Regions from separate parts of the Homo sapiens genome. Here regions 1, 3, 4, 5, 6 and 7 are each linked to region 2. The links are contacts of gene promoters, found by promoter capture Hi-C in human tissues and cell types (Jung and others, 2019). All regions are on one chromosome and are shown on one strand. Each heading gives the region's core, a stretch centred on a gene start or on the middle of the fragment in contact. The rest is flanking DNA. Distances are from core to core; before and after follow the strand shown.

Region 1 (3,762 bases), core at 519-3,018, 430 kb after region 2:
GGTTGATTTGTGTTTGTTTTCCTTTTAAAATAGTTTCTCTTCTCTTAGAAAGCAATAGTTCAATTCTTTTGATCTTATTAAATGAAGCTCTTTAGACTTTTTACCATTTTTTTTTTCTGGAGTAGCAGAGTTTGAATATGCTGGTTATCTTTGAGCTTGTGTCTTTAGCTTGATTATTTCACCACAACATTTGGCCAATCATAGGATGGGGTAGCTGGGGTGATAGATTTCTAATTTTCTTCTTCTTAACATCTTTTTTCAGATAATGCAAAAAGATGTGTGCCAAGTTATATCAAAGCAACTGCAAGATTTACTGACATAATGACAACAAATATCATTTAATTAGAGTTTCTAAGTATGCCAGGCACTATGCTGAATCCTAGCTGGGTTATTTTATTTAATATTCATCACATTCACCTTGTGAATGACAGCATAAAGGATTAAAAAAAAGTTACATACCTGTTGTTATATAATTAGCAAGCAGCAACACATAAAAGATTTAAACTCAACTCTGATTCTTGAGCCCAGATTTTTCCACTACTTCCAGTATTTCCTATACTTGAATAATGTGCAAACTTCTTGAAAAAAAATCCTAAGGATTCTCTCTCATTGGAGGATCTCTCCAAAAATCCAAGTATGAGAAATACTGATTTAAGAAATTAAAGTTTTAACCTATGGAAATGCCTTTCAATATGAATATTGCTACACAAGAGAAGTTTTAGATTTTTAATGCGGTAAGCTGACTTGTTAAAAGATTCCCTCGATATAAAAACACAAACTATACAAATCTCACCTCTTCATGAATTTGTCTGCAGAGTTGGGTTTATAGGCAGTGACAGAACCCAGGGACTATCTCTACCCCTGTAGTAGACACTATGGAGCATAGTCCAGATCCTGCTTTCAGAACAAAGACCCTTATTCCCCTGAGAACCAGAAGTGTCCAGTGCTGAGAGTTCACAACTGATTCCTTCCCCAAGAAATTCTTTTGGCTGAGCAAGTTTATAACCCATTCTTGGAGGCAGCATATTTCCTATGACTAGTTATTTAGGGTAGGGTGTGTGGAGGGACAAAGGCCGAGCTCCTTGCTTCAATTCAGCTCAGGTCTGAGGGGATATTCAAGCTTCAGAGAACTGTGTGAGAAGGGCTGAGGCCTCTGTTACAACTGCCTTGGAGGTCAACCTCTCCCTCTGCCCTGTCCTGCTTTCCTCACTCCTTTACAAGCATTATTGCTGAGAATACTTCATAATAAACCACCTGTTTGTGAATATCTGGCTCAGGAACAAGGAGACTCATGACAATCTCTAAAGCCACCTCAAGGAAACACTAAATAAAAACAGAACGATTTCTATGTGTATGCAGCTTAAGACAAGACTACAAAGGCTACCTTTCAAGCAGACCGTTGCCTCCTCAGCTCCTCCTTCAGATATTTTGGAGAAAAAACACAAGAACTTTTGACTCTAACACACTGCAAGTATAGACATTAAGTATCTGCAACAACTTCCTCATCCTTAGACACCATTATATAGAAGTCTCTAATCCCTCCCTAGAGCAGAGAGTCTATATAACACAAACTGGATTCATACAGTTTAGACAAAATCAACCACCCCACGAAACAAAACAAAATAAAAAACCAAACCATAATAGCAGTTTTGATTATCTTGTTTGGTTTTCTAATTGGCCAAGTAAATAGAAAAATTGACACTAAAACACTTCTCTTCGTATCATGTAGATTGTCTAAAATTAAAATGTAATATTTAGGCTAACACAGCTTAACTGACATTATGAGGATGGTAGAATCATTTAAACCCATAGTGGGAGGTTCTTCGTGGGTTTATGTGGGACTACTGGCCAATCCTTTTATCCTTTAGTAATCTTAAGCAGGAACAATTTGTATTGAGTTCCAGTAATTGGAGGTGTGCCTGAGTTGCTGAGGAGTAAGAATGCAAGAAATGCACAGAGAAATGCACAGTGACACACACTTATAATTTGTACTTTATTTCAGAACATGATGTTGTAAACACGAGAAAGAGATGAGTGCAAAATCATCATATGGCCAATATAAATAATTCAAGCACCAAATCCATCTGAGGCTCAAACTGTCTCATTTGAATCATTTTTGATTAAGAAAAATACCACAAAAAATGAACAATTGCCAAATCCATCCTTTTCAAAACTTTGAGTTGTTTAACTAACTAAAAAGAAAAAAAAGTACTTGAGATCACAGTTAGAATTAATATACATATATACCTCTACCTTCTGAACTTAGTTCTAGGATAAAATTCCAATGTATAAGCAAAAAAAGAAATAAATACACTGTCACATCAAGATCAAAATAATTTTAAGTGTCCCTGTGTTTCCTTTATGCAACCATTATGACATACTGGAATAATCAATGAAAGACAAAAATAATTGTTCTTTTTCATTTAACTGTGCTATGGCAAAAAGAAAATGAGACTAGCAGTCAGGGAAGAAGTTAGGAATAAGATGCAATACAAGATACTTTGTATCATTAATTATTAGTATTATTATAGAAATGAAGAGGAAAACTCTTATCTGGTTAAGTTGTGGCAGCTGAGAAAAAATCCAGATGTAAATTCAGAAGATAATTTCTTTTCATAGTCTTTACTGACTATGTTTATAGAAGTAAATGTCAAGGTAAGCTTGGCAAGAAGCAAAAGAAATGAGGCACATTTCTCTAGTGTCATTCCCCAGATGCTGTCTTTTACCTTTCTGAGTATGCACGAGTCTGACACTGGGTTTCTGCTTCTTTATGGAAACAGTATGCAAACACTCAAATAACAGCAGGATAGTCATTTTTCATATATGCTTTGTTTTCATTTCTATGACTTGGAAAGACCAAGTTTCCAAATGCAGAAATCTATGCAGTTGCTCTGCAAGTTGAGTCCTTGCTTGCACTCTGGATTTTATTTTTATTTTTTTATTTTTATTTTTTATTTTTTCTCCCTCTTGCTCACTTTCCCTGGAGTCCAGAGCCTGAACCAGGCTCCAGGTAAGAGGACAGAGTGAATGCCTTTTGTTTCATTAACATTTTCCTTCACCTGGTGATTTCTTTTCTTTTTTTTTTTAATTATACTTTAAGTTTTAGGGTACATGTGCACAACGTGCAGATTTGTTACATATGTATACATGTGCCATGCTGGTGTGCTGCACCCAATAACTCATCATTTAACATTAGGTATATCTCCTAATGCTATCCCTCCCCCTTCCCCCACCCCACAACAGGCCCCAGTGTGTGATATTCCCCTTCCTGTGTCCATGTGTTCTCCTTGTTCAATTCCCACCTATGAGTGAGAACATGTGGTGTTTGGGTTTTTGTCCTTGCGATAGTTTGCTGAGAATGATGGTTTCCAGCATCATCCATGTTTGTACAAAGGACATGAACTCATCATTTTTTAAGGCTGTGTAGTATTCTATGGTGTATATGTGCCACATTTTCTTAATCCAGTCTATCATTGTTGGACATTTGGGTTGGTTCCAAGTCTTTGCTATTGTGAATAGTGCTGCAATAAACATACGTGTGCATGTGCCTTTATAGCAGCATGATTTATAATCCTTTGGGTATATACCCAGTCAGTAATGGCATGGCTGGGTCAAATGGTATTTCTAGTTCTAGATCCCTGAGGAATCGCCCCACTGACTTCCACAATGGTTGAACTAGTTTATAGTCCCACCAACAGTGTAAAAGTGTTCCCATTTCTCCACATCCTCTCCAGCACCTGTTGTTTCCTGACTTTTTAATGA
Region 2 (3,634 bases), core at 678-3,177:
CTACCACATGTTTTTCAGACACAGTACTCAAAAAGAGATCGTCTTAGCGAACAGAATTGTGGGTTACTAAATCATCCCTATTGTCCTAAGTATCACTCAGAAAAACACTGTGTGTTTAGGAGCACAACTTATAAACAGCTGATTTATATATAAAATAGTGCACGTATTCATTTGGATATACTCATCTTGAGCTCACTGTAAGATAAAGCTGTCTTGGATATTGCTAAGGCAACATTTTCTTTACAGATGTTATTAAACATTGGTAAGAAAGGAGAAATAAACTGGTAACTTCACATGGGCACGTGAGACCCTAGAGAATGTCGTCACCATTAATCAATTTTTCTAACTGATCAAGCATAAACAGCCAAGTCCAGGTGGCCAAGTCAGCCAAGTCCAGGTGGGCAAGTCCTGGAGCCATAAGTTGTCTTTCTACCACGGTAAAAAAGGATCCTGGATCTGAGACCTGGCCAGGAAGCCTGAAAAGCACGTGTCCTACTCTGAGTTTGGGGAACTTCCCAGGAAGCATTTGTTCAGAGTAAAACTCCATCACCCCCTGCCTGCCTAACTCGGTGAAGGGACAAGTACGAGCCAGGGGAGGTAAACTCTGCGCCCCGGGTAGCTCCCAGGAGGAAGACACCGGGAGGCAGCTGCCCGCCCCGGCCCGGTCCGGCTGCGGCCCCCGCCCGGCTCACCTCTGCGGCAGGGATGTTGACCACGCCGGTGGAGCGCCGCTTCTCCCGCAGCTTCCTCTTCTCGATCTGCCCCTTGCCTTTCCTGGCACTGGGGCCCGAGCTCTTGCCCTTCTCTGGGACGCCGTCCGGCTCCTCCTCGTCACGCTGGGGCGGCGGTGCAGCCGAGGCAGAGGCGGCTGGGGGCTCGTCCTCCGACCGCCGCGGGCCGGGGGCCGCCCGCGTCAGCATGGCGGAGCCGACCGCGCAGTTCACGCCCCCGGGACCGGGGACGGCAGGTGCGGCCGGCGCGCCGCCCGGGAGGTTGTTGTTGAGCTCGTTGGCAGCGGCGGCCGCCGGGGTGCCCAGAGCCCCCGCGGGGGGCTTCCCAGCGGCGTCGCTGCTGCCCCCTCCCGGGGGGGCCGGGCCCGGGGGGTTCTGCTTGGCGCGCATCTTCTCGCGTTTCGCCTTCCACTCCTCCAGGAAGTCTGTGGTGCTGCCGCCGAGGCCGCTGCTGGTCCGGTAGCCACCGGTCGCCATATTCCCAAAGGGGCCGGTCGGGCTCTCACCTCAGGCCGCCCACCAGGGCTCCGGCCGCTGCCTCCTCTTCCTTCCTGCGGCCCCGAGGATGCCAGGAGACGACCTCCAGGAGAGGGACGGCCGCCGCTCCCACAGCAGCCGGCGGGGCTGAGGTGAAAGACAAAAGGGGGCGGGTAAGGGAAGCGTAAGATCCCCGCCCGACCCAAGGGTCTGCCCCCGGGCTGCGCCCCTTGGAGTCCTCGAGCGCGCCCACCAGTCACTACCGGCCAGCAGCCGCCGGGTCCCCACCCTGCAAAGTTTCTCCCACGCACCTACAGTACGGACCCCGACGATCGCCGCCCCTAGAAGGGAGGAGAGAGGACTGACCCCACCCCCAAGTCGGCCCGCCCGCCCCATCCCCACCAAGGTCCGCGCCGGCGGCGGTCGAGATACTAGGGCTAGACCCGCCACCTGTCGGCTCGTCGTATCGCCTGCTCCGCGCTCTAGCCACCGCCGGTCCGAGGTCCCCGTCAGCTACAACCCCACTCCCAAGGCGAGGCGCGGAGCTCCTAGCCGGTTCGCAGAGGAGGCGGGGACCCAGCTGTCCCGCCGAGCGTGGAAAGGACCGGGTGTGAGCGAGCGCCTTACCTTGGAGGAGCTTGTAGGGGACGAGGCGTAGGGCTGGGATCCGGCTCCCAGGTGTGCCGAAGCTGGCGCGCGCTCTTCCGCCGCGCGGAAAGTGCCGCGGCAAACTCGCGGTGCGGAGCTCCAGGCAATCCCAGGACAGGAGGGAGGGAGAAGAAGGAGGGAGGGAGGGAGGGAGGGAGCCAGGGGCGGGAAGGGAGCCGAGCGGCGCCGAAGCACGAGCGGAAAAGGCCGAGGCGGCGCGCGAGGGGCGCGGCGCGCGGTGGGAAGGGTCGTGGCCGCTGACGCCCCGCCCCCGGCGCTCAGGTGCGCGGCGTCGCGTCCGGCCCGCCGCTGCAGCCTGCCCTGCGCCAGCCGTCCTCTGCCCCGCTCCCGCCGCAGACCACAGCGCGCCCGCCGCGCTCCGCCCGCGGCCTGCGAGTTAGACGGCACATTCCTGGGCTAGCAGCTTCGCGGCGTCCGGCCTCCCGGCGCCTCCGACTCCGGGGCGGGAACGGCACTCCACGCCCTTCTTGCTTGTCTTCTCCGCCTCTCTCTTCTCCCACCACTCTTCCTTTTAAGTACAAGACCGTATTATTTGAGAGAAAGTCTCGAACGCTGCTGGCTAAGGGGAAAAGTGCGATAACTTGTGATGATTCAGGGAATGACTAGACAGGATGGGAAAATACCCACGTGTCTCTTTTCCTAGTCGCTGCTCCCTTTTCAGATGTACTAGGGCAGCGGGCAGGAGAATAGAAAGACCTGAGACAAACCCAGCACCCTCCTTCTAAGAAAACTGCGGTGCCCTGGTGAAAAGGGTTGGCTAAGAGGAAGGACTTACTAGTATCTTAGGGTTGCGGGAGAAAAAACTCAGTTCGACAGTTTATTGTATTGGCGATTCCAGTCTTGGAGTTTTCCCCTTAACCCTGTCTCTGCCTCTCCTCTTTACAGAGAATGAATTTAGCAGCAAAGCTCCCTACCAAAGTACTAACGCTGCACTGATGCTAATTTGAGATGAGCTGGGGCAGTGATTGTCTCTATTTTTTCATTATTAACATGCCAGAGGCTTATCCTCTGATGCAAGTCATCTGAAATTTCTGGATCAGAGCGGGGTGGGCTGTCACTGACGCACCTAAGACTGACCTTTCTATATCCAAGTAATGTCAGGGCACATCATTGTGGGAGGCTACAAATGCCAGGTCTCCATTTTGTAAAAAAGTAGGAGAGCCCTAAGTCACGCTCTTACCTAACATAAACCTTTCTTCCTACTTAATATTCCTGTTTTGCCCAGGTAGCACATGATGAGTGAGCAATCAGTGTTTGCCTGCCACAGAACTGGGAACAGAAGAAAGTGATTCACATGCTCTATATTTCTCAGGGAAAGACAGTTTTGGTCTTTGGTCTGGCTGTTGTGGGAAACGTATGGCGAGAGCTCTGGAAAAATCCTTAGAAAATTAAAAGCTTTTGTTGGGAATAGGTCTAAAAGGCTGAGCGGCTGTTTACCTAAGCTAGTACCAACCCCAGTGTGCCACCTGAAGTTTCTCAATTACATATTCATTAGTTTGTTTTCTGAGTTTTAAGGAGAGTAAGGGAGGCTGGGACATTAAACGTATTCACATTCATATGCTTTGTAACTTATCAGAGGACTTTTCTCCTGGAAGGGCTGCAGGATATAGTGGAAAGAGGGTATAGTCAGCTAGCTGAGAGATCTTGGGCATGTTTACATTATCTGGTACTCAGCTTTCTGTACTATAAAATCAGCAAAAATTACATTTTTTTTTTTTTTGAGGCGGAGTCTCGCTCTGTCGCCAGGCTGGAGTGCA
Region 3 (3,694 bases), core at 1,121-3,620, 350 kb after region 2:
CTGGGAGAAAGACTTCCTAGAGTCAAGTCCTCTTTCTACCATTTACTTGTATTTGGTTTGTTGTGAACTTGAGCAAGACACTTTGTCTTTAGATTCCTTAGTTTCCTTATTTGTAAAATGGTAATATTGTGGACTACATGTTTATGTCTTCCCAAATTTCATATTTTAAAATCCTAACCCCCAGTGGGATGGTATTAGGAGGTGGGACCTTTGGGAGTTAATTAGGTTTAGATGAGGTCATGAGAATGGCGCCTCAGTAATAGGATTAGTATCCTTATAAGAGAAAGAGACTAAAGCTCACTCTTTAGGCCACATGAGGATACATGGAGAACATGGCTGTCTACAAACCGAGAAGGGTGCCCTCATTAGACACTGAGTTGGCTGATGCCTTCACAGTCTCCAAAACTGTGAGCAACAAGTGTTTGATGTTAAAACCAGCCAGCCTGTGGCATTCTGTTATAGCTACCTGAACTAAGATAGGCAATAACAATATTTACCTTATAAAGTTGTTTACACATTTAGTGAGTTAATGTATTTAAAGCTGTTCACATAACAAGTGAGATATATATATAATGTTAATGATTCTTATAATTACATTATTCAATTGTAACAGAGATTAACTAGAAGCCTTATCACAATGCCTTCTTCGCTGTAAACACTCTGTCTAGCTCTACACTGGCAGTTAGCATATCACTCCGATTAATTTTAATAAGGTAACACTTTTGCTGTGTTATACTTGTACTAAAACACCTTCAGTAGCTGCCTATCACCTGTAGATAATCATACTCCTTAGGCCATCTCTGCCCGAATCATTCTAGTCTATTTTCCAGGATTGCCTCACATGACCACTTCACTTAGTTAAACAATTTTCTCATCATTCATTATCTGTCAAGAACTGTGAACAGTCTGAGATTTTACCTCATTTATAAGCTAAAAAATTAGCCTTCTACAGTTTCGGGTTGCTGGCATTAGACACAGAATTCCTGAGTCATTACTCGTGGTGCAGCAATCAGTATGAAACTTCATTTTTGCACTGGTTACCTTTGCTTTCCGAGTCATATGGAGGGGGATACTAAGGGGCCCAAGTGGTTGCATGCAGTGGGTTTGTGTGATAGCTGGGGACCTACAAGCTTAGAGTATCTGACATTCTTTGCTAGTAAACCAAAATACAATAGTGGTAGTTTCATAATGCTTAGTTGCAATGTAGAATCTGAAACCATATTTGTTACTGTGATGGATTAAAATCCATTGGTGTATATTGAATTTTGAACGAACCTTTCACCCATATATGATTTTGTAACCAAATGCACTGGTCATCTAGAAAATATTGGTTCCCCAAGTTATGTAGAACTTCCAAATGTTGACACATTTCAATATATAATACAAAAAAATCATATTTGTTAAGATTTCCAATATTCTAATTTTTCTAATATCTGAATTAGTATGAATATTATCCTTTTCTAACATTCTCTGAAAAAATGGCTACTTCTACTTACAATTCAAACACCTACACAATTGCTTTTCTTTGAGACAAGGACTGTTTCAGTAGATCAGAAGAGCTTTATGTGTACTTTCTATTTCATCTCACAGAATATTTAAAAGGTATGTACTCAAGAGTCAATATTTTGAAAAATTCATATATTTTACTACTTCATCAAAGATATTCTTTAGTGAATCTGGCTTCTTAGAATTTAAACTGGGAGTGTATGGTGGTGAAGAATAAAATTCTAGTATAGTTTGCTTCTACTATTCTATTCATGCTAAGTTGTCAGCAGTTTTATCACCCATTGTTTTTTGCACCATTAGTGCAAAGGTCAACACAGTAAAAAAGCCAGATAATATCTTAGTATTGTTATGAAAATAATTTTGATCTTGTGAACTCCTGAAAGGGTCTCAAAAATTCTTAGATGTCCTTGGATCATACTTTGAGAACTGCTGTATTAAGGAGGCCTGTTAGGAGGCTGTTATAAGAGGATATTGATAAGGAACTGTACATATAATGTAGAGCATGAAAGAAAAGGAATTTGATAAATTGAGTACTGTCTTAGTCTGTTTGGGCTGCTATAACAAAATCCCATAAGCTAGATAGCTTACAAACAGCAGAAATTTATGCCTCACAGTTGTGGAGGCTGAGAAGTCCATGATCAAGACATGAGTCTATTCAGTGTCTGGTGAGGACATGTTTCCTGGTGCATAGAGGGCCCCTTCATGCTATGTCCTCACATGGTAGAAGGGCAAGACAGCTCTTTGGAGTCTCTTCTGTAAAGGCACGAATCCCATTAATGAGGATTCACTCTCATGACTTAATCACCTTCCAGAAGGCCTCACTTTTTTTGGATTAATTAATCAGTATTAATGAACAAAATATTAATGACATCCCCTTCTCCGTCCCTGTGGATCAAGGCAAGAAGGGCCATTTGCCGACACAGATACCAGGAGGTGGAAAGCTGCAGCAGTTTTGAGCAGAAGGCCTCACTTTCTAATACCATTTCCTTGGGGTTAAGATTTCAACACAAGAATTTTGGGACGACACGACCATTCAGAGTAGAAAGCACATTGTTTCTAAGTTATGTGTGGAAAGTTCAGGTACAGATGTCTAGCAGCCATTATAAAATATGAGATTGAATATAGAGAATTACAACTTAATGATCTGCATTGGGGAGGCATCCACACACAGGTGACAGGTTGAAGACATGGGAGTGTGCACAGCATACTGGTCTAGGTCATGGTCTGTCTTGGTTTAAACTCTAGTTATGCCACCTTCTTAACCAATTTGTGACTTGGTTTCCTCATCTGGAAAATGGGTAAAATAATAGTATCCACCTCAAAGCGTTGTTACAAAGATTAAATGAGTTAATATTTGTAATGTGGTTATAACAGATCTTGGCACATAGTAATCTATATATCTGTCTAGATCTGAATGTAATTGTACTATACAAATGAAATACAAAAATGGGAATAAATGGAGATTTCTCTGGGAGAATACTGAGGGAGAAGAGAAGAGGGCTGAGAATTGGGGCAACCAATGTTTAAGAGAAAAGCAAAAGAAAAGAAGCCAGTGAAGGAGACAGAGTGATGAGGGAGGCAGGGAAAAGCTCCAGAGTGGTGTCCTGGCAGCCTAGGAGAAGTTTGCCACATTGCAGACTTCAGGCAGGAATGTAAACTTTGAGATGGCGGGTGCTGCATTTACTTTGTTCTCTGCTGAATCCTCTGGACTTAGCACAGTGCCTGATATATAGCAGGTGTCCAGTAAATATTTGGCAAATGAAAATGCCAAAGAGAAGTTGGAAAGATAAGGGCCTGAATATGTTTATTTATATTTAACAAAAATAGGTCAGTTGGGGACTTAGGCCTCCCTATATAGTGCCATACTAACGTCAGAACTTGATGTTAAAATATTCTGAGACGGAGTTTCGCTTTTGTTGCCCAGGCTGGAGAGCAATGGCGTGATCTCAGCTCACAGCAACCTCTGCCTCCCCGGTTCAAGCGATTCTCCTGCCTCAGCCTCCCAAGTAGCCGGGATTACAGGCATGCGCCACCACACCTGGCTAATTTTGTATTTATTTATTTATTTATTTATTTATTTATTTATTTATTTATTTATAGAGATGGAGTTTCTCCATGTTGGTCAGGCTGGTCTCAAACTCCCGACCTCAGGTGATCCGCCTGCCTCAGCCTCCCAAAGTGCTGAGAT
Region 4 (3,555 bases), core at 923-3,422, 370 kb after region 2:
TTGCTTTTTAAGTATTGAAACAACCTTGATCACTAAAAGATTTAAGAAAGGTGAGGACTAATAACTATTTTCAGTTTAGGTGAACAGAGGATGTGAAGCCAGAAATAAAATGATGGGGATGTGTAGATAAGAAAGTGAAAAATATAAGATTAAGTTTTGGTATTAAAAAATATAAAAAGTACAAAGTCAGGTGTGAGTATTAAATGACAATGTTTAATCTGAATGAATGCAAAGGAGCTACTTGGAAAGCAAAATGAATGCGGACAAATGATATGTTTTTGAGCTTTTCTTTTTTTTCTATTTTGCCAGCTTTGCATCTTTTCCTTTTGGACGGAATCCTTTCTGCACTGTTAGTCCTTCCATGTGATTTGAGTGAGACTGACCCTGCCTACCAACCCAGGGGTGGCCAACCAGAGTACTCTATTTCCTGGCTACAATGATTGACTTAGTGAGGAGTCTGTGATCCCAGAAGGTACCATAGGAGTCATTCTTGTAATAATTTTTGAAGCTAGTGAGAAAGATGTGTTCTGTTTTTTGGGGGTGGAGGAGTGGGGTGAGGAATAGCTATTGTAACAATAGATTAAGATTCAAGTGTTCTCCTTTGCCACTGATAAGGAAGAACTTGCCTGAAAAAGAAGCCAATAGAAAGGAAAGCCGAGTCAAGAAATGGAGAAGAAGACAGATTGCCAATGACAAAAGTTAACCTTCTGGAATCAGCTACATATTGAAATTTCCTATTATGTAGCCCAATCAATTTTCTTATGTGTTTAAGCTAGATTGAGTTGAGTTTCCATCATTTGAAGTTACGAATCCTTTCTTTGCACCAAAGGTGCAAAAAACTTATCCCAGATCAGTCTAACCATCTGTCTTCTCTCTACACCTGGGATCTTAAAAATACTTATAAAAAGTGTTATAAGAACAGCTCAGAGATGCAAAGTTCTGCCAGAGATCACATAAGCTTGTGGGTTGGTGCTATGACAGCCATGGTTCACAGCACAGCTGGGACCTCAACACTACTTGGCAATATTTATTTATTTACATACATATTTTTAATTGACAGAGAAAAATTGTGCATATTTGTTGTGTACAACATGTTGTTTTAAAATAAGTACCCTAATGCTAATGGTTAATTAAGCTAATTAACATATGCATTACCTCACATCCTTTTTTTTGTTGTGGGAACACTTAAAATGTACTCCCAGCAATTTTTAAGAATATAATACATTGTTATTAGCTATAGTCACTATGTTGTACAATAGATTTCTTGAATGTATTCTTCCTATCTGAAATTTTATTCTTTGACCAGCATCTCGCCAGCCACCCCACCTTTCCAAGCCACTGGCAACCACCATTCCATTCTCTACTTCTCTACTTCTGTGAGTTCAAGTTTCTTAGATTCCACACATAAGGGAGATCATGTGGCATTTGTCCCTCTTGTGCCTGGCCTATTTCACTTGACATCATGTCCTTCAGGTTCATCCGTGCTGTTGCAAATGCCAGGATTTCCTTCTTTTTTAAAGCTGAATTGTATTGTGTATACATACCACATTTTCTGTCCATTCATCCATTGATGGACACCTAGATTGATTCCATACCCTGGCCATTGTGAACAACGCTGCAATGAACATGAGAGTGCAGACACTGGCAATATTTTTTGTTTTCTGGTTAGGGTGTCTCCCATTCCCTCAATATTTATCTATTTTGTGAAAATCTCATTATGCCCTCTATCCTGCCAATTCTGTCTTCACTCTTAGTGTATGAGGTTGCCTTTTTCTTCACTGAGAAAACTGAAACCATCTGGTAAGAATGCCCTGCAACATCCTTTCTACCTGCCTACTTGGCTCAGCATCTGCACTCATCCTTTCTTCTTTTCCTCTGGGCACACAAGAAGACATGTGCTTCTCCCTTCTCAAGATAACTCTATGTTGCGTTTTGTTTTTTTTTTCGTCACCTCCTTTTGGACCTTGCTTTGTCAATCTGCTTTTCTTCTGCATTATCAATCTCTTGAAAGACATCTCAATTTCTTCACCTTTCATTCACACCTTAACTTGCTACAACTTGACTTCTGCCCCAACTCAAATTGATCTGCTCAGCAAAGCTCACCAATGGCTTCTATATTGCCAGATCTTTTTTCTGATCTTCATTGACCCCTCTTCAGCACTTGACATTGTTAAGGGCTTTTGCTTTGAAGTGGTCTTCTTCCTTATATGATTTGCCATGAGCCTTCTCTCTGATGACCTTTCTACTCTAGCTTTCAGGTTGTTTTATTTTATAGCTCACCGATGAAGACTCATTCTGCCTCATGACGTGCACTAACTAATAATAATAACTCACATTTATTGAATGCTGATGTTGTGCCAGGCTCATTGGCTTATGAAATTATAATAACTCTTTGAGGTAGGTGCTATAATTATCCTTGTTTACAAATTGGAAAGTTGAGGCTAAGAAAGGTTATTTAATTTGCTCAGGGCTATGCAGCTAGTAAGACATGGAGTCAGGCTGGAATCCAGAGTCTGCTTTATATGACTTTAAGTAATGAAAGTATAATACACAACAGAAAAGTGGACAAATGCTAGAAAAGAACCTGATGAACCTTCACAAGGCAAACATGCTTGTGTAGCCAGTATGCAGATGGAAGAGCAGAATGTTCTCAGCTCTCCAGAAACCCCCTCATATCATCACGGCACTTCACAAAAGAGCAATCAATATTCAGAGTCTAACACTACAGGTTAGCTTTGCCTGTTTTCAACTTTATATAAATAGGATCATAGAATCATACAGCATATATGTAAGATTAATTTATTTAGTGGTGAAAAGAAAAGCTCATTTATTGTTATTATATTTTAGAACATCATTGTGTAGATACACCACTATTTATCTGTCCTGTTCTTGAATTGATGTTTGGGTTGTTTCCTGTATTTTTTCTACTGCAAATAGTGCTATGAATATTCTTGTACACATTTTCTGATGGACAGTGTATGAGTGGAGTTGCTGGGTCATGGGTCATGCCTATACTGGTTTTAGAAGTGCTGCCAAATGATTTTCATAATTGATTTTGTCCTAAGGATTGAATATTTCAGATATTATATACCCAGAATAAATCCGTTATCTCCCCAGTAGAATAAAAAGGTTTCTCTTTTTTATTGCTTATATCTCCCACCTGTGCTCTTCATCCAAAATTTATTTTTATATGTATGGAGGGTACTTTTATTCATTTCATACTCAACATGTATTATTACATTGATCAAAATCTTTACTGCATTCACTCCAAAAATAGAATCTTGACCGGAGTGAAATTCTTTTCAAGTATGCTTTATTCTCTTCTTTCTTTATCCAGATGCCACAGGCACATTTGTTAGGAGTTCTTACATTGTAATGTTGCTCTTCATGTGGCTGCCTTTCATTTATGTATGCTGAAACATTGTTCATGAACATTGACATGGTAGTCAAAGATGTCATAGTCATACCCTTTTGTTAAAAATTTTTTCCTGGGGTGGGAGGGAGACACACGACTTTGCTTCAATATTGCCACAGCAAGCAATTACTGTTGCACAG
Region 5 (3,333 bases), core at 727-3,226, 300 kb after region 2:
TCACAGCTTCCTTAATACCCAGCCAATTGCCAACATCCTCTTTCTTCAAGCAACTGGTGATTATCATTGCTTCCCAGAATGTATTTGATCCTTAGAACATCCATAGTTTAAAAAAAATCTTACTAACCAGGCAGTTAACATCCTTTTCATGGTCATCCATGGCTTGGTGGCCTTGGACATATGACCTCCATGTCAATTCAAGCAAGTTCTGCACCCCTTTTAGAGATTAGACTAACTTTTAATAAATATTTATTGAATACCCATTATGTGAGGGATGTCATAGGCATTGAAAGACAATGATGAATAAAACAAATGAGATATCTGCCCTCAGGAGTTTATGGCCTGTAACAGGTGTTGGCAAACTACACCCCGTGGGTCAAATCTGGCCCACCATCTGTTTTTGACTATAAAGTTTTATTGAAACACAGCCATATTCATTCTTTTGTGTATTACCTGTGGCTGCTTTTATGCTACAAAGTCAGAGTTACATAGTTGCAACAGAGGCTATGTGACCTGAAAATCCCAAAACATTTACTATTTCACCATTTACAAAGAGAGTTTGCTAATCCTTGGCCTAAACCAAGCTTCTTGAACAATCTGTAATGAAAGATTAGTTAAAAACTTAAAAAATTATTGTAGACATGTTTTCTAGCTTTTTATAAAAATGAGTTTTTAGAAAAACAAACAAAAAAATCAAACATACAAAATACAAGCTCAGAATACTATGTCAAATTGTTTTACAAGTTTCTAAATACTTAATCTAGTTTCTGTATTTATCTCCTGGATGATGAGTAATAAATAGTTCGCAGACAAGCACCCGTGAGCTTTGAGACCACACTGTGAGTAGTGCTAGCCTAGAAGTTAAGACAGAAATCAAGCAAATAATAACACTAATAATTATCCTAGATCAAATTTTACTAATAGCTATGATAAAAAATCATAAAGTGATATGCGGCTGAATTTTAGGGGAGACCAAGACAGGGTTTTATGAAGGGATGAACTTTGAGCTGAGATTATAGAGTGAATGTGAATTAACCAGACACAAAGTGTGTCTTTGCTGGGGTCTGATGATGTTAAAAGAACAACCATGGCAATGGAAATACATGTGCAAAAGCCCTAGGTGGGAATGAGGCAGGAGAACAGGGTCTAGAGGCAGGGAACCTAAGGCTGTTTCTTGCCGACTTCCTAGAACTAAAAAGAAAGGAAAACCCTAACTTTCCATGCCTAAGTAACAAAAGGACCAGAGGCTACTCCCTTTGCAAACCCCCCATCTTTTCTGGGCGGCCGATGGGAAATTGGCTGTCGGCAACAAATCATACTGCCAGTCTTCGTTTGCAACTTTGTAACTTCACTCCAGCCTCTGAATGGTTGCTGTCCACAACCAGTCAGACTGATTGCGGGCGGAGTCTTTGTTTGCATAGAGGTATAACTTTGTAACTCACCTTAGCCTCTGATTGGTTGCAAAAAGCAATGTTTGCACAGGAGTGTGAACTTTATAATTTCACTTCAGCCTCTGGTTGGCTGCTTTCTGCAACCAATCAGACTGATTGCGGGCTACCACTTCATTTACATGAGGTGAGTATGAAGTGGCCAATGGGAAACTTCTAGTGGGTATTTGGACCCAAGAAGATTCTGTATCCTGGCCCTTGAGCAGCTGTTGGGGCCCCTCCCACACTGTGGAGCGTACTTTCATTTTCAATACATCTCTGCTTTTGTTCTTTTGTTGCTTCATTCTTTCTTTGCTTTGCTGGGCGTTTTGTCCAGTTCTTTGTTCAAAACGCCAACAACTTGGAAAACTTGCAGTCAAGACCCTCTACTGGTGACAGGCAGAAACTTACTATGTGTCTGTAACTGTTTTAAACACTTTATGTATATTTCTCCTTTAATACCCTCTTCAGTCTATAAGGTCATTATCATCATCTCACTCATGCTTTTCATCATAAATTAAGCAATTCATTAACATGCCCTTTTTATCATCTATTTTATATATGAGAAACCTGAGGAGTAGAGATGTGAAATAACTTATTCAAAATCACTTAGATGGCTAGTGAGGCATAGAGTTGGAATTGGTTTCCAGGGGTATTTGATATCACAGTCTGTGCTTTCATCCATTGTGCTATGCAAGTATCATTTTTAATCATAATAACCCATGATTTCAACCCTGGAGGCATTTGCCTCTAGTTTCCAGCAATCCTAAACAACTATCTTAATTTTACTGTCTTCCTTGGCAAAGCTAGAACATATAATTAGCTTTATCAAATTTCCAACAATTTCCACATAAGTGGAGAACCAGGCTAGTCAATGAAGACTAGAATTAGGTGCCACAGCCTTTGGTAGCACCTAGTAGAAGAGGTATATGGCTTGTATCAGAATTAGGTTTATCTGTGAGTAATAGAAACCCTAAATGACACTTGCTTCAAGACTCTAACTTGTTTCTTTATTATGTAAACCTCCCCAGACGAGAGCTTATCCAGAGCTGTATTCCAGGAAGTCACCAAGGCCCGTATCTTGTGTTCTGACATCTGTAGCAAGCCATCTCATAATCCAAGATGACTGGACACTGTATTCATTTCTCAGGGCTGCTGTAATAAAGTCCTACAGACCAGGTGCAGTGGCTCACACATGTAATCACATCACAGCACTTTGGGAGGCCAAGGCGGGAGGATCACCTGAACCCAGGAGTTTGAGACCAGCCTGGGCAACCTAAGGTGACCCCTATCTCTACAAAAAAAGATTTTTAGGCCAGGAGTGGTGGCTCATGCCTGTAATCCCAGCACTTTGGGACACCAAGATGGGGGAATTGCTTGAGGTCAGGAGTTTGAGACCCATCTGGTCAACATAGTGAGACCCATCTCTATTTTTTTTAAAAATATAAACATATATTTATATATACTATATGATTATATGTAATATATATTATGTATTAAATGATATATAATATATACTATATAATATATATGTTAAATATGTATACCTTTAGCCAGGCATGATGGTGCACACCTGTACTCCCAGCTACTCAGGAGGCTGAGGTGGGAGGATCAGTTGAGCCTGGGAGACTGAGGCTGCAGTGAGCTATGATCACGCCACTGTACTCCAGCCTGAGTGACAGAGTGAGACTCTGACTCTAAATAAATACAGTGCTACAAGCTAGGTGGTTTAAAATAACAGAAATTTGTTATCGTAGCTCTGGAGGCTGAAAGTTCAATGGTAATGTGTCCGGAATTGGTGGATTCTTGGTCTCACTGACTTCAAGAATGAAGCCACGTACCCTCGCGGTGAGTGTTACAGTTCTTAAAGACGGCCTGTCCGGAGTTTGTTCCTTCTGATGTTCGG
Region 6 (3,590 bases), core at 146-2,645, 470 kb after region 2:
AAGGTGGGAATTTATAAGATGTGTGCTTTTCCCCTCAAGAATAGGGTACCCAAAATCTTGGCTCTACTGTGTAACTTTGTGAAAATTGGCTATCTAGCTTCAGTTTCTTCACCTATAAGCAGAGATTAACGATATCTATATTGTTGTATAATTGTGAAGAATATGGAGATGTTAGTTATAAAACTTCATCATGTAGTATATTTTGAATTTGTTAGATTCCTTTCCTCTTCTCCTTCAAGGTACTATTTCAGGGTATACATACCTAAAAAACTAGAAGACCATTACAAAGCAAATAATTTTGGGTGTTTGTTTAAATGTTTGTGCTGTTTACCAGTGAAGCCACCTTGTCCTCTAGTCTTCTTTGGTGGGAGGTTCTGATTAGAATTCAGTCTCTTTCCTTGTTATAAGTCTGTTCAAATGTTCTATTTCTTCTTGTGTCAGTTATTGTAGTTTGTGTTTTACTAGGAATTTGTTTCATCTAAGCTTCTGAATTTGTTGACATATAATTGCTCATAGTATTGTCTTATAATCCTTTTATTTCTCTAAGGTAGGTAATAATGGCCACATGTTCATTTCTGACTGTTTCATGGCTTTTGATGTACCCTGAGTCTTCTAATCCATTGCAGTCATTATCCTTGTTGATGTTGTATTAACGCATCCCTGTTCAGTGAGACTGTCAGGCTGGCTCCTGTATCTGGGTGACACCACTTCATGAGCCCATGGCAGCGTCTTTGATCTGTGAGACACTGAGATGACCCAGTGTACTAGTTCATTCTCACACTGCTATAAAGACATACCTGATGCTTGGTAATTTATAAAGAAAAGAGGTTTAATTGGCTCATGGTTCTGCAAATATATACATAATGATTTATTGTGCATTACTGATTGTGCATTAATGTAGAGGAGGAAAAAAGGGGAAATTTCTTGGTATGAAGAGGATATTCAACAAAGATGAATGGACAGGAATAGAGAGGGTATTCCAAGGATAGAAGGGGACTGGCATAAAATAAAATGAGGAAATGGTGTTGAAATAAATAAAATCAGAAAATAGTCTCATGATAGCGCTTTCTCCCTGTGTGGGATACTAGAGTAGGAGGCATGTGCTAAATGGGTCTTGAAAAAATTTGCAAGATATTTCTTGTCTTATGTCTGTCCAGTACTTTTTCTTCTCCTAGGATTCTTTAGAGATTTGTAAAACTGGAAAGAAGATCTAAAGAGATTGAAATGACATGTGCTTTGCTTCTCTCCTATTTTCTGATCTTTTCCATTTATTCTAATCTTTGCTGTGGACATATATACCATTGTGTTCTTTATTCATTAAGCATTTATCATGGGCCAACTATGTGCAAAGTATTATATCTGATTTGAGGTGATGAGTTAGTGGTTGTGGGATGTGTGTACAGAGATATATGACAAAGGTTTCTGCTGTCTGGAAACTGGATATTCTCAAGTTGTTCCTTCCACCCACCTGCAGTAATTTACATTCTTCTTTCTTGCACTATCTACTTTGCTTTTTATCTCAGGCTGACCTCTATGAAAAGGATCAACTGAGCTCTGTTTCTTCTGTCTTCCATTTGAGTTTAGTTGATTGGATGCACCAGTAAGGGGGAAGAGAGTTTGATTCCTGCCCTGCGGGCCTGAGGTTTGGCAGTGGCTGGATTTATACAAGTCACAGATCCCATCCAGCACCCAGACCTTTCCTACAGCTACAGCTACAGCTGCCCTGAGTTCTGGTAACTGCTCCTTCTCTTACCCCTTTAGGCCTAAATGTAGTAATAGCTTCCACTGTTGCCAGTCCTGAGGTGCTTCATCAATAGTTGTTGGTTTCCCTTAATCCCATCCATACATTTGTACATAGTCCCTTCACTAATCCTTCTTCAGTTACTCCTTCTGATTGTGCCATCTGTGTTCTGTCAGGACCCTGGCTGATACACCTTCCTGCTGTAAAGCCAATATGTGAATTGAGAGACAGATGGTGGTAATGTGCTTTCCTTCTGAGTACAAGATTTGCTGGATTAGTGATACCCAATTTTTAAATATATATTTTCATACATTTTCCTTTTTGTTTGCAAGATGCTTTTTATTGTTGCTATTTGTCTTCTCTGAGATATTAAAGATAGCATGTACAGTGTAGTATAGTAGCTTTTCCTTTCCTCTCTCCCTCCCTTCTTCCTCTCTCTCTCTCTCTCCCTCCTTTCCTCCCTCTCTTCCCTTTCTTTCATTCTTTCTTTGTTTCTACATATTTTATTTTAAATATGACAATATACATACACACATGCATACATATTTAAAATTCACCTTCTACATTATTAGACAAGCTCTTCCTCTAAATGCTGATTTTTCACAAATTATTTTCATTTGTGTAATCTAAGTCATAAATCTAAGTCTTGCTCTTATTTTCAAAGATGTAGCTCTTTTTGCCAAGTAAACCATATTGTCCTTTCTCTCTTTTCACCTTCTTCACTGGAATTCACGTGAATGAATAAATGTCTATTCTATTTGGCCTCTCTTTCAAAAGATTTGATAAATACCTAACTTCTGAAAGCCCCAAAGAAGTAAGTTCATTTCCATTCCAAAGATAAACAGGCTCAGAGATTTACTCTGCTCCATAAAATTAACAAATATATAAATTGTAGATAAGGAATTGGAATTTCTGTTTCTGATTCCAAATTCCATATATCTCACTATATTTACTGTAACCTATTATTTGTTCATATATAATAGCAGATAGTAGTGGAATTCCTAATGTATATCAATCACTGGGATGCAGAGATGGTTTAAAAATTCTCACAGTTCAGAGGAGTACATGGTGAGATAAATAAAGCACGAATTGGAGACTTATGGCAACAGAGTCAGAGGGCAGAAAAAAATGCTGTGCTCTGGGAAGGTAGGAGAGACTCCTCAGAGAAGAAATATTTAAGTCAAGTCATCATATTTAAGTAAGACTTTCCTAGGCAGAATGAATTTCGGGGAGGAATAACTGATATTGCCTTTATTTTAAATTTTGATATTTTATCTTTTTTTGCATTGATTTTTTAAAATATTGCATAAAATATTTCCCTTGATGACTGAGTTTTTTTGGCATCCCTTTAAACTTTGTGCTGAAGCAAATGCCCTGTTCTTCTAGCTCTAGTCTTTTCCCTGGGAACAGTCACGGAGTTGGAAAAGAAACAGATTTACCAGCAAATGGCGAACAATTCAGCCTTAGTAGAGTGAAGGGTGCAAGTCCGTGGGAGTGGTGGGGAGGTGGAGATTCTCCAAAGACAGTTGAGGGCTGAATTGTGAGGCGACTGTGTAATAGGCTAAAAATTTTGGTTTTGATTTTTTAAAAGAGTAATTGGAAGGCTTTTTTAAAAATCAAGAATAATATCATCAGATTTTATTTTTGGAAGAATCCTTTATAGAGGACTGAGTGAATCAGTGCAAGACTTGAAGCAAGGCAATAAACTGAGTTAGTTTCATTAAACAAAGTAAGAACTATTGAGAACCTAAATAAAAGTGAGATAGATATTAATTTGGGTAATATAATCTTATAATTAAAATATTTTATGCTAATTATAGAATTTTAATTTTTTTCTTCTAGGAATGTT
Region 7 (3,761 bases), core at 580-3,079, 310 kb before region 2:
TTAGACAAAACACACAGTGGAAGATCAGAATTTAATTAGATTTGTTTGTTGTTGAAACAGCTTTCAAATTCTTTCATCTTATAGGGAGTGAATCCCTAGATTACTCACAGACACATGAAAATAAAAAACTACAGAAGAATGTTCACATTGCATTTCAGTTCTTCATCATGTAAAGCACTTGGGCCTTTCTAAAAGATGCAAATCACTCTTTATTATTTTGATGAGCTAACAAGATGAATTCATCTCTAGAACACTATAAAAACTAAATTGTGAAAAATGGCGCCAACCATATAACCTGTCCTTGATCATACCTATTATTTGGTAACTCTGTGGGGAAACTAGAATCTTTTAGAAGTATTATTTGTGTCCTAACTATTTAAGTGGATGATTTACCCTCCTCTAGGAAACTTAATATTGAGAGTAGGCTGAGAGGTGATCACGTTAATCTGGAAAATTTTTCATAAATTAAGGAAATTGAGTTTAATAGTTACAGCAAATTCTCCACATGCATCATGTTTCTGTACTGAGTGCTGAACTATACAATAAACAAGGAACTGAAAACAAGCTTTGAAAATATCCAGCAGATTCAAGTATTGCTATTTGGCCTAACAACCTCTTAAACATATGCTCATTTGCAACTGCAAATATAAAAGCTTTTGTGTAAAAGGCTTTATATTTTATACACAAAATATAAAAAATTTTGTAAGATTAGATTTATATGCCAAAAAGAATCTTTCATATATATAATTCTGTAATTCTTAGATATCAAAAACAAGACTATTTGAACAGTTTAGTATTAAAATAAGTGACAACTTACATTACTTATGAGGGCACGTAATCAGAGTGGCTGTACCTGAACTAGGTACAAAAATGCTTAATACTCAGCTTAACACTAGCATGTAAAATGTATGTGAATTCAGCAAAACATATTTTAAATGACTTTACATTCCATTGCTATGTATGTTATAGACACAAAGTTATGGCACTGAGATGAATCACTACTTTTGACAAACATTTTTTGACACTCTCACCTGGGAGATCCGGAGCACCATCCACTGACAGCCAAAATGATCTAAATTTATAGTTCCATTGTTTCAAGGCTTGAATAGAAGCATAGCAGAAAACAAGAATGAAAGCTGATTTTCTATTGTTGGCCGATGTGAAAAAACGTCATCACTTATTATATGATAGGTTTGGTTGGCTTTCTCCTGAGTTACGTAAGATGTTATGTTCCTGATCTGTTTATGTATGGGTGTTTAATACCCAAATCTTTGAATTATTGTTAGATTATTTACTATCTTTTGCTAGTAGTTATTCCCACCAAGCAATTTATAATAAGCAGCTAATGGAAGGGACCACTGGATTTTTTTTTTTTTTTTTTTGAGACAGTCTCACTCTGTCACCCAGGCTGGAGTGCAATGGCATGATCTCAGCTCACTGCAACCTCCGCCTCCTAGATTCAAGTGATTCTCCTGCCTCAGCCTCTCTAGTAGTTGGGATTACAGGCACCCACCACCATGCCCAGCTAATTCTTGTGTTTTTGGTAGAGACAGGGTTTCACCATGTTGGCCAGGCTGGTCTTGAACTCCTGCCCTCAAGTGATCTGCCAGCCTCGGCCTCCCAAAGTGTCGGGATTACAGGCATGAGCCACTGCTTCTGGGCAGGACCACTGGATTTCCATATGGAAAAAACTACTATCAAAAAAAGATTTTTTTTTCCAAACTCTACATAGATAAGGATTGTATAATCAGTTACTGGAAATGCATTCTTAGGATTGTTTGCATAATTTATTTTCTATGTATTTGTGGATGCTCAATCAAGCTTTATGTATATTCATTGATTTTTTTCAAATCTGATTGCCCTAGTTATGCGTGTTTATTCCCCCCAAAATTGTCAGCCACAATTAAAATTAAAATTATGATACCAAACTTACTGGTGGTAGCATGCTATAATTTATAATTCAAGATGGTATCAGAGCCACATTATATACTAAACTGGTTTTGTATATGCAGTTTATCATAGGATTTAGAACAAATCAGTGTATTAGGCCAGAGTTACCAACTGAAGGGAGCATCAACCAACTGTGGTTATACAATTACCCATTGTTGTTGTTGTTGTTGTTGTTTTTTAATTCAGGAAAATGTGTTGTATATGAATATACTAAATAAAGGAAATAAAGCTATTAATAGAATGTGCCACTGGTGTCTTAGGTGAAAACATACACCAAGATTCATAACTCCCCTAAAATTGTTATTGTCAGTTAGCTGGATAAAGTGGTCTATGACTAAGTTAAAAAGCTAGAAAAATCTTGTAGTCAAAAGGAAAACAAACTTTGTTATGTATACTCAGGCTGGCCCACAGAAGGTGGTGCATGGCAGTGCTGGTGAATATCATTGCTGCAGTCTCTAATACTGCTGCAGTGCTGCCTAGCTGCTACTTTAAACCAACACTGGCTCATCTGGGGCCTTGAATTACCCCTTAAAGGTTGTATGGTGCATTACCCTGCTATTTTAAAATTACTTTAAACCATTCCTAAAGAAAGGTACCACATCCTTCTCCAGAGAAGAAGTTATTAGATTCTTTACAAAAACACATATTTATTTAAATAATAAATTTCCAACAAAAAATTCACAATTATAAGATTCCTTTGAAAATTACCAGGGTTTTCCCCAAATACATTTTTGGGTTTTTTTTTTTCCTTCCTTAGTATTCATTAGTTTTCTTTTTTCTTTTTCTTTTTTTTATACTTTAAGTTCTGGGGTACATGTGCACAACGTGCAGGTTTGTTACATAGGTATACACATGCCATGGTGGTTTGCTGCACCCATCAACCCATCATCTACATTAGGTATTTCTCTTAATGCTATCCCTCTCCTAGCCCCCCAACCCCCACAGACCCTGGTGTGTGATGTTCCCCTCCCTGTGTCCATGTGTTCTCATTTTTCAACTCCCACTTACTAGTTTTCTATTGTATGAACTATCTTCCATGCTTATTTTGCTTTTATTAAAAATAAGAAATCTGTATTCCTGGTATTCCCTGGTGTTTCGATCTTTTACACACCTATTAGAACCATAATTTCTGTAACATCATAACGCTTTTCAAAACGTCTCAGTGCCTGTTCCTGAAGTTATTAGTTTCCAAGTCTCCTCAATGCCTAGCCTCGTGCATCCATGGGTCTGTAGTTGCGCCTATAGCATTCTCATTGCTACTTCAGTTTCCCTGTGACCTCCTACTTCACTTCTCTACGGGTGTGCACTCTCCTTATCTTTCTTGCTTTCTCTCTCAACGTTAAATTCACATATATGAAAGACATTCTATGGGAAGAATAACCTACTCCAGCATTTAATAGAGCCATTCTAAACATATCTGACATAGAGATGTCCGCCTGTCACCTGCCTATTCAGGAAATGAGCTTGAGATTGGAGATAGATATATTATTGCAAACCACAATCAAGGCTAATATCTTAACCTGATTTTATCCTAATTTATCTCTGTTTATCTTCATTTTCAGCATTTCTGCTCTTTCTACCCTCTCTTACCCACCTTGTAATCTTCAAATACTATATCTAACTGATACCCTTCATAAAGGGAATATTTTTGCACATATTATGCACTTTCAGTTGAAGAGACAGTAACCCTCCAAGACAGCAATGGCCCAGAAAAGAGACTAGAAATGTAGTGATAATTCATAAGTCAACATCTGCCTCTCTTTTCTACCTTAGCCAAGTTTAATGCAGAGGGCATTACACTTAGTTCTAGT

Evidence for each region. Contacts are between HindIII fragments. The study calls those that stand out against the background at their distance.
Region 1: a contact is called between a fragment that was not itself captured here and the fragment with the promoter of PAWR in region 2, in 2 of the 25 tissues and cell types used here (mesendoderm cells and thymus).
Region 3: a fragment that was not itself captured here is called in contact with the fragment with the promoter of PAWR in region 2 in 4 of the 25 tissues and cell types used here (H1 embryonic stem cells, IMR-90 fibroblasts, aorta and 1 more).
Region 4: a fragment that was not itself captured here is called in contact with the fragment with the promoter of PAWR in region 2 in 2 of the 25 tissues and cell types used here (adrenal gland and mesendoderm cells).
Region 5: a fragment that was not itself captured here is called in contact with the fragment with the promoter of PAWR in region 2 in 1 of the 25 tissues and cell types used here (H1 embryonic stem cells).
Region 6: a contact is called between a fragment that was not itself captured here and the fragment with the promoter of PAWR in region 2, in 2 of the 25 tissues and cell types used here (IMR-90 fibroblasts and aorta).
Region 7: a fragment that was not itself captured here is called in contact with the fragment with the promoter of PAWR in region 2 in 2 of the 25 tissues and cell types used here (bladder and mesendoderm cells).

Annotation. Positions count from the first base shown.
Region 1 is chr12:80,119,960-80,123,721 of GRCh38, forward strand. The region is part of intron 1 of OTOGL (otogelin like); the gene reads left to right. Among named protein-coding and RNA genes, the nearest start is that of OTOGL, 22 kb to the left of the region's middle. The HindIII fragment of the contact is 4,573 bases long and covers 1-3,762 here.
Region 2 is chr12:79,689,037-79,692,670 of GRCh38, forward strand. It overlaps PAWR (pro-apoptotic WT1 regulator), which reads right to left and starts at 1,928. Exons shown (of 7, transcript NM_002583.4): 1 at 1,836-1,928; 2 at 693-1,355. The coding sequence starts at 1,208. PPP1R12A-AS2 (PPP1R12A antisense RNA 2) reads left to right here and starts at 996. Exons shown (of 7, transcript NR_187531.1): 1 at 996-1,360. RefSeq lists silencers at 636-1,155, 1,926-2,225. The HindIII fragment of the contact is 10,737 bases long and covers 1-3,634 here.
Region 3 is chr12:80,040,964-80,044,657 of GRCh38, forward strand. No RefSeq gene overlaps it. Among named protein-coding and RNA genes, the nearest start is that of OTOGL, 57 kb to the right of the region's middle. The HindIII fragment of the contact is 9,563 bases long and covers 1-3,694 here.
Region 4 is chr12:80,060,711-80,064,265 of GRCh38, forward strand. No RefSeq gene overlaps it. Among named protein-coding and RNA genes, the nearest start is that of OTOGL, 37 kb to the right of the region's middle. The HindIII fragment of the contact is 5,744 bases long and covers 1-3,555 here.
Region 5 is chr12:79,989,308-79,992,640 of GRCh38, forward strand. No RefSeq gene overlaps it. Among named protein-coding and RNA genes, the nearest start is that of PPP1R12A-AS1, 56 kb to the left of the region's middle. The HindIII fragment of the contact is 5,137 bases long and covers 1-3,333 here.
Region 6 is chr12:80,164,023-80,167,612 of GRCh38, forward strand. All of the region lies in intron 1 of OTOGL (otogelin like), which reads left to right. Among named protein-coding and RNA genes, the nearest start is that of OTOGL, 66 kb to the left of the region's middle. The HindIII fragment of the contact is 4,487 bases long and covers 1-3,590 here.
Region 7 is chr12:79,383,625-79,387,385 of GRCh38, forward strand. All of the region lies in intron 9 of SYT1 (synaptotagmin 1), which reads left to right. Among named protein-coding and RNA genes, the nearest start is that of MIR1252, 34 kb to the right of the region's middle. The HindIII fragment of the contact is 4,110 bases long and covers 1-3,761 here.